Linked DNA regions of Homo sapiens: region 1 is linked to region 2. Evidence: promoter capture Hi-C in human tissues and cell types (Jung and others, 2019). All regions are on one chromosome and are shown on one strand. The core of a region is centred on a gene start or on the middle of the fragment in contact, and the rest is flanking DNA. Distances in the headings are between cores, read along the strand shown. Region 1 overlaps CDC42BPB (CDC42 binding protein kinase beta). Region 2 holds the start of TRAF3 (TNF receptor associated factor 3).

Region 1 (4,321 bases), core at 670-3,169, 260 kb after region 2:
ATTCTTTTTTTTTTTTTTTTTGAGTGGGAGTCTCGCTCTGTCGCCCAGGCTGGACTGCAGTGGCGCGATCTCAGCTCACTGCAAGCTCCCCCTCCTGGGTTCACACCATTCTCCTGTCTCAGCCTCCCGAGTAGCTGGGACTACAGGCACCCGCCACCACGCCCGGCTAATTTTTTTTTGTATTTTTAGTAGAGACGGGGTTTCACCATGTTAGCCAGGATGGTCTCGATCTCCTGACCTCGTGATCCACCTGCCTCGGCCTCCCAAAGTGCTGGGATTATAGGCGTGAGCCACCGCGCCCAGCCTAAAATATTCTTAAACACAAGACTGAAAGCTTCTTAATTTTTCCTAAAACTACAGTAATTCTGACGCCAAAATATTCCAAAGATAACATACAAAAGTTAAAACCACAGACTATCTACAGACTACTCCTCATTTGGAAATACAGATTTAAAAAAATAATAAAAAAAATGAATACGATAGGCTCAACTGTGCAGTTAGAGAATAAAATGCCACAGCTAAGCATGTTTTATTCTGGGAATGCACATATGATTCTATAGCATGTATATCAATACAGACAATAAAAAATAGCCAAACTAAAATCACAGTTCTGATACATGCAATAACCATATTTCAACATTAATTTCTCATTAAAAGTCGTGACTTTTTATTTTATTTATTTACTGAGATAATGTCTGGCTCTGTCGCCCAGGCTGCAGTACAGTGGCACAATCATGGTTCACTGCAGCCTCGACCTCCCAGGCTCAAGCAATTCTCCTGCCTCAGCCTCCTGAGTAGCTAGGACACAGGCCCACACCACCACGTCCAGCTAATTTTTGTGTTTTTTTTTGTAGAGACAGGGTTTCGCTATGCTGCCCAGGCTGGACTCAGGTATATCTGCCCACCTCTTATAGGCGTGAGCCACCACGTCTGGCCATCTCAGACTTTTAGACTTATCAAAATCAGCTTTTAATGTTTAAAACAATCTTTCAAATTAACATTCAATTTTAATGGAAAAAGACTAGAACATGCTTTAAAATAAAAAAGCAAGAAAGACAATTATAATAAACTCGGGGGAAGGAGACTTTCACTTTTCGTGGCATACCTACTTCTTGTACTGCTTAAATTTATTTTATCATGAGCACGCTTTTCTTTTTCTTTTTGACAGCGTCTCACTGTGTCACCCAGGCTGGAGTACAGTGGCACAATCATAGCTGACTGCAGCTTCGACCTCCCCAGGCTCAAGCAATCCTCCCATCTCAGCCTCCCGAGCAGCCGGGATTACAGGTGTGCACCACCATGCCCAGCTAATTTTTGTATAATTTGTAGAATCGGGGCCTTGCTATGTCGCTCAGGCTTATTTTCATAATTAAAAAAAATTAAAATAAAAATAGTACTTGCCAAATGTACCTTTTGTGATTGGTATTCTGATACTTTCAATACATGGTATGAGGGGCAATCCCAAATCACAGAAAACCGCAGCTCAGCTTACCTACAACTGCCCTCCAAGGACGGGCCCAAAGCTAAGGGCTTTGTAAAGCCCAAAGCTAAGGGAGGTGGCTCAAGAGATATGTGGAGAGGAGTTTTTAAAGAATTTTAGGCCGGGCGTGGTGGCTCACACCTGTAATCCCAGCACTTTGGGAGGCCGAGGCAGGTGGATCACAAGGTCAGGAGATCGAGACCATCCTGGCTAACACAGTGAAACGCGTCTCTACTAAAAATGCAAAAAATTAGCTGGGCGTGGTGGCGGGCGCCTATAGTCCCAGCTACTTGGGAGGCTGAGGCAGGAGAATGGTGTGAACCCGGGAGACGGAGCTTGCAGTGAGCCGAGATCATGCCACTGCCCTCCAGCCTGGGCAACAGAGCAAGACTCCGTCTCAAAAAAAAAAAAGAATTTTAAAAACTGGCTGGGTGCGGTGGCTCATGCCTGTAATCCCAGCACTTTGGGAGGCCGAGGTGGGTGGATCACGAGGTCGAGAGATCAAGACCATCCTGGTCAACATGGCGAAACCCCGTCTCTACTAAAAATACAAAAATTAGCTGGGCATGGTGGCACATGCCTGTAGTCCCAGCTACTCGGGAGGCTGAGGCAGGAGAATAGCGTGAACCTGGGAGGAGGCGGAGCTTGCAGTGAGCCGAGATCACACCACTGCACTCCAGCCTGGACAACAGAGCGAGCGAGACTCTGTCTCAAAAAAAAAAAAAAAACCAAAACAACTTCAGCACTCCTTAATAGCCCCAAAGCGGGCAACCCAGATGTCCATCAGGAGTGGACAAAGAGAGGGTTGTGAATACAGTGGACACTACACAATAACCACAAGGAACTAAGCTGCAGCTATACCCAATCATGTGGATGGATCTCAGTTACTCTTACTTACAATTACTTTTTATTTTTTGAGACACAGTATCACTCTGTTCCCAGGCTGGAGTGCAGCAGCATGAGCTCGGCTTACTGCAAACTCCACCTCCTGGGTTCAAGCAATCCTCCCACCTCAGCCTCCCGAGTAGCTGAGACTACAGGTGAGCACCACCATGCCCAGCTAATTTTTCTATTTTTTGTAGAGACGGGGGGGGGGGGCGGGTCTCATTATGTTGCCCAAGCTGGTCTCGAACTCCTGGACTCAAGTGATTCGCCCACCTCAGCCTCCCAAAGTACTGGGATTACAGGCTACAATTACCTTTTATTATGGTAAAATATACGTAACATAAAATGTACAATTTTAACCGTTTTTTGAGATTGACCAAGAAAAAAAACAGCAGCAACTCAAATTGCTAGGATGGAAATAAAAGAAGGGACACTACTGACATTAACAGAAGTAAAGAAGATTATTAAGAAAAACTATGAACAACTGTATGCCAACAAATTAGATAATCTAGGTGAAATGGACGAATTTATAAAAAGACACAAACTACCAAAATTGACTCTTGAAGAAAGAGAAAATGTTAATAGATCTACAACAGGCACAAAGATTGAACTAGTAATCAAAAAAATACCAAGAAAGCTATCCAGGCCTGGACAGCTTCACAGGTGCATCTACCAAACATTTAAATAAGAGTTATTACCAATTCTTCACACTCTTCCAGAAAAAGGAGAACACTTCCTAAATCATTCTATAAGGCCAGTATTATCTTGATACCAAACCAAAAAAAAAAAAAAAAAAAAGACATACAAGGAAAGAAAACTAGAATCAATTACCTTTATGAATAGATGCCAAAATCTTTAACAAAATACAATACTAGCAAACGAAATTCACAAACACAGAGAAAGAATTATATACCATGATCAAGTGGGATTCATCCCAGGAATGTGAGGTTGGTTCAACAAACAAAAACCAATTAATGCAATACACCATATCAACAGAAGAAAACGAGCCACACAACTATCTCAATGGATGCAGAAAAATCACGACAAAATCCAACACCCTTTCACATCAAAAACTTAACAAACTAGAAATAGAAGGAAACTTCCTCAACCTGAAAAGGGGCATTTATGAAAACCCGCAGCTAATGCCACACTTAATGGTGAAGGCTACACGCTTTCTCCCTAAGATCAGAAGAAAGACAAGAATGTCCCTAGTGCTGTTTCTACCCTACACTGTACTGAAGGTTCTAGGCAGGGCAAGTAGACAACAAAAAGAAATTAAAGGTATCCAAGTTGAAAAGGAAGAAGCAGAACTATCTGTACTCACAGAGATAATTTTATATATAAAATTTATATGATTTTTTATGTAAAAATTCTAATGAATTCACTAAAAAAACTACTAAAACTAATTAAAAAGTTCAGCAATTTTGCAGGATAAAAGATCAATATATAAAAATCAATTTACCTCAGGAATAAATTTAAGAAAGTAAGTGCAACTCTTACCCCTGCACTGTGAATTTAATTAATGCCACTGAATTGAACACGTAAAAATAGATAAAGTGGCCAGGCGCAGTGGCTCACGCCTGTAATCCCAACACTTTGGGAGGCCAAGGTGGGTGGATCGCCTGAGGTCAAGCGTTCGAGACCAGCCTGGCCAACATGGTGAAACCCTGTCTGTACTAAAAATACAAACATTAGCCAGGCGTCGTGGCGGGTGCCTGCAATCCCAGCTACTCGGGAGGCTGAGGCAGGAGAATCGCTTGGACCCGGGAGGCAGAGGTTGCAGTGAGCCAAGATTGTGCCACTGCACTCTAGCCTGGGCGACAGAGCAAGACTCCGTCTCAAAAAAAAAGTTAAAGCAGCAAACTTTATGTATTTTTACCCCAATTAAAAAGAAAACTAAACAACTCTCACTCTGAAAACTGAAACTTTTTTTCAATTAAATTTAAATTTATTTAT
Region 2 (4,313 bases), core at 9-2,508:
GGACTATCTGGGGTTCTGGAACGTTCCATGGGTGAAGCTGTAGGAGGAGATGCTGGACTTCCTGCCTCCACTCACATGAGTCACTGGAGCAATACAAGAAGGCAGACTGGCCTTGGCTACTCACACTGGTCTCAGCTCTGGGGTAGGGCTCTTTATAAGCCTTCTTGAGAAGTGAAAAATGCAAAGTCCTTTCTGTCCCCTCACCACTGACTTGCAAACTCCAGCGAAGGCCTCACCCCTCAGCTGGCCCAGAGCCTCCCAGAAGCCCTCCCTTCGCTTCCCACCTCGCCAGGCCCAGCCAGGCTGGGTGCTGCCTTGGTGGGCCTAGGTGAATCACTGACACACCACTGATGCCTTTGGGGCAGAAGGCAGAGGCCTCGGGAGAAATGCGCAGGCCCCAGCGGCCTGGTGGAGGGTGCAGGGGGCGCAGGGGCAGCCAGGACCGCCGAGGACGCTGGGGGCACGTGGCAAACTGGCTACCCTGTCCACCCGTGAGCAAGACACCACTCCGGGGGCGTGGGAGGGTCCAAGGGAGGGAGAAAGGAAAGTGCCACCAAACTAATGTGGAGCCCTGCCCTCTGCATGCGAAAAGGGGCTCCACGGCCTGAGTCACCCTCAGCCCCACCTGCGTGTGCGCGAGGGTGCGTGGCCTGGTACGCGTGCGCACGGTGTTGGTGAGCGTGTGTGTGCGTGTCCGCTTGAGGGGAATGTGACCGTCGTGTATGCGTCCGCGACAGTGCGGGGGGCCGCATATCGGACCCGTGCGTGTGCGTAGGGGTCGCGTGTGGCCATGGGCACACGGGCGTGCACGCACGGGGGCTGCGTATGCTATGCTGGCGTGGGGGGTGCGGGCGAGGTGGCCGCGGGGAGGAGCGGCGCCAGCACCTCTCGGCCCCCACGCGGCCTGCGTGGCTTTTTGACCCGGAAAGGCGGGGACGCGGGGACGCGCGGCGGCGGGGGCGCGGCGGGGGCGGCGCAGAGCGAGGAGGCCCGCGGGGCGCGCGGCGGGGACGGGAGGGAGGCGGGGGGCGCCCGGGGCCGTCCCCGCCCCGCGCCGCGGCGCCGCCGTTGCTAAGGCCGGGCGGGCGGCCGCCGGGCGCTAGGGCCCTTAGCAACGGGTCGCGGGCGCGCGCGGGGGGCCGGCGGGCGCGTGGGGCCGGCGGCGCTCGCGGGCTCCTGCCGCTCCCACGCGCGCGGGCGGCGGGGGCGGGGCGGCGGGCGCGCCGGGGATTTCCAGCGCGCGAGAGGAAGTGCCTGCGCGGGGCTGCGTGAGGGAGCGAGGGAGCGAGGGAGCGCGGCGCGGCCGCCGCGTGCGCGAGCCGGGGTTGCAGCCCAGCCGGGACTTTCCAGCCGGCGGCAGCCGCGGCGGCCGCCGGCTCTTCCCCGCCCCCCGCCATGGGGCAGCCCGGGGAGCAGAACGCTGCGGACCGCGGCGGAGGACGCGCCCGGCGCCCCTGAGCCGGCCGAGCGGCGACGGACCGCGAGGTAAGGGGCCGCGGCGGGCGGGCGGGCCTCCGGCGCGCGGCCGGGCGCCTCCATCCCCGTCGCCTCCATCCCGCGCCCTGGGCGGCGGGGCCCGGGGGCCTCGGGGCTGCCCGGCGCGGGCCCGGCGCGGCGCAGGCCCGGCCCGTCCCAGCGGCGACGGCGGGGCGCGGCTTCAGCCTGGCCCCGCGCCCCAGCCGGGCTGCCTCCCGCCTCCGGACGCCTCAACTTCGGCAAACTTTGTCCCGGAGGCCGGGCTCGGGGCCCGAGGGGGCCGGGGCGCCCGCACCTTTTCAGGAAACGGGGCGCGCAGGCCTCGCTACGGCCGTGACCCCCGCTGGCGTTGAGGACCCGGCACCCCGCGGGGCCGCGGGTTTCACGCGGGGGGACGGGCGGCTCAGGGGCTGCGTGGCCGAGCGCGCTGCCCGGGCCGGCCGGGGGGGCCCGGGCGTTATTGGAAAGTTGGTCCTGAGTCATTCCGCCTCAGAGGCGCCTCCGACCGCTTGGCGGGCGGCGCGGGGGTCCGGGTATGGGCAGAGGGCGCGAATCCCCCTCGCGCGGCCGCCGAGGGCCGGCGACTCCCGGGGCACCGGGCGGCTCCTGGCCGCGGGCTCTGCGTCTTCCCCGCGGGCGCCAGGCGGCTCTCGGCGGGCTGGCCGGTTCCACGCCGCCAGCCAGCCCCGTGTGGGGACTTCGGTCTAGTATTTGGACCCGAGGAGATAATTCTGTGTGGAAAATTCTCTCCCTTCGGTTGGAAACAGTAACAAACTGGAAACGGATGAGGTGTTATGGACGTGCTTGGAAATGCAAGAAACCTTCAGATTACGAGCTGTTGACGGGACCAGTTGTATTTCACGTTTTTCGAATTAAGCTCAGAATCAGTTTTCAGAATGACATGTGATGCGTGGTGCGTGGTGTGTGTGCCTGTGTGTGTGTATGGATATAATTCATTCATTTTTGTGGCGTCAGAAAGGTTATGTCGAGCGTTGTAGCGGCTTCTTAATTTACATTCACGGCATACAACTGAAGAGGAGCCATTATTTATTTTTTTTCCTAGCATTTGCTGCGACTACACACTGCCGGAGCGTTTGGAAATGTTGTTTGCTGTTACCCTGTATTTGTCTATAAAATTCTTACTGTAGGGAATGGCCAAGTGGACCATCAGTTCGTCCTGAGATCTTCTCATGTCTCTCACGTCTTTGAAAATGGCCTGTGAACAGACTGCATCATATGTAGGATGTCTGGCAAAATAGTGTACAGCGTTCTTTTCTCAAATGAGAGGAAATGTGTACCTTTTCGCCGCGTTGTGACAATGTAAATGTTAAGAATTAGTCTAAAGATGAAAATTCTTTGGCCAAAACAAGATAAGCCTTATCGATATGAAAACTGGAAAACATCACATGGGACTGGAAATCCTGTGAGTGGGTGCTCATGACGGAAACCCTGACAGACCTTGGATTCCAGCATCGCTGGTGAAAATCAGACCTTATCATGGATAAGGGTTAAGATGTAAGGTGTCTCACCCAGACGCCATCTGTTCCAGCTGTCAATGCAGAAGCCAGGAAAGGAGAGAGAGCTGGCCAGGGAGAATTCCAGCTTTTTTTTTTTTTTTTTTTTTTTTTTTTTGAGACATTCATGTGAATTTCTCTGCGAGGGGAAAGAAGACCAATTATTTTCCTTGGATGCTGTCCCTTCTTTTGGAATTAATAAGATGGCTTCACTCAGTGAGAGGCTGTAAAGACATTTCACTGGAAACAGGCAGTAACAGTGGCCAGTTGTTTCTGTTAATACCATCAAAATATCCCTACTCTTGTTTGTGCCTTGAAGAAAGTCCTTCATTTAACTGAGACATCTGAGCCTGCGTTGCGGATTCTGATTCTCTAAATACTCCTGCAAGAATCCCTTTAATTTTTCACTGTGCAACTCAAGAAGGACCTTTCTAGGGTATTGTCAGGATACGTATGCTAATGATATTGTCAGGTTAGGTGAGAATGATTGATCACTCCCTTAAAATCCTTTTTTATGATGTTAAAGCTGTACTTTAAGAAAGATAAAACTGCCACTGTGGCGTTGCAAGTCTGAGCTAGCTCAAGCAAACAAAGGAAATTGCGTTAAATTTGCCCAACTCTATTTTCTCATCTTCATATAGCAAGACTCTCCAAACAGCAAGTGATCTAACCTATCAAGTATTATGCAATAGCTGAATTTCCTTGCAATGGTCAGTTTAAAGAACTGTTAACTTAGCAGAGGCGACGTCTCGTGGCCAAGGCCCTTAGGGTCCACTCCATGGAATCAGGACCCCTTGCTGCTGCTTTGCGAGTGTTCATGGAGGAAGAAAAATCACTTGGTGTTCTTTTTTTGCATGGAAGAGTCATAATAACTGACTTCAGATACAGAGAAAGTGGGAAGAGTGAGAAAGAAGGAGGTGAGGCCAGAGGATTTGGAAGGCTACCAGAGAGAAGCAGCCGAGGCCTGATTGTGGAAATGATGCTTAGACTTGCTTTCAGCAGGAGTGATGAAGCCAGAATGAGGGAGGCCCAGACGCCCGGGAGAGGTACAGGGGATAGGTGCCATGTGGTTTGCACCACCGCAGCAGGCTTTGGGTCCCAAAGACGCGAATGGAAATAGAAGAAAATGCAGTTTTAAATAGAAAAGAAAAAAAAAACCGAGAAAATGTTATGTGTGCTTGTGTAAAATTTATTATTCATAATTAAAATACAAAATGGCTTTCTCATTTGAGAAAGCCTTTATTGACTAAGTTCTGCACAACACTATTCCAGGAAAGGGGGTGGGGAGACAGACCACCCTAGGGAGAAGGCAGAGTTTTTTAC

The links. Contacts are between HindIII fragments. The study calls those that stand out against the background at their distance.
Region 1: a fragment that was not itself captured here is called in contact with the fragment with the promoter of TRAF3 in region 2 in 1 of the 25 tissues and cell types used here (small bowel).

The regions. Positions count from the first base shown.
Region 1 is chr14:103,036,150-103,040,470 of GRCh38, forward strand. All of the region lies in intron 1 of CDC42BPB (CDC42 binding protein kinase beta), which reads right to left. Among named protein-coding and RNA genes, the nearest start is that of CDC42BPB, 19 kb to the right of the region's middle. The HindIII fragment of the contact is 7,768 bases long and covers 1-4,321 here.
Region 2 is chr14:102,776,191-102,780,503 of GRCh38, forward strand. It overlaps TRAF3 (TNF receptor associated factor 3), which reads left to right and starts at 1,259. Exons shown (of 12, transcript NM_145725.3): 1 at 1,259-1,485. RefSeq lists an enhancer at 1-71 and silencers at 782-841, 932-1,541, 1,752-1,801, 2,042-2,101. The HindIII fragment of the contact is 12,756 bases long and covers 1-4,313 here.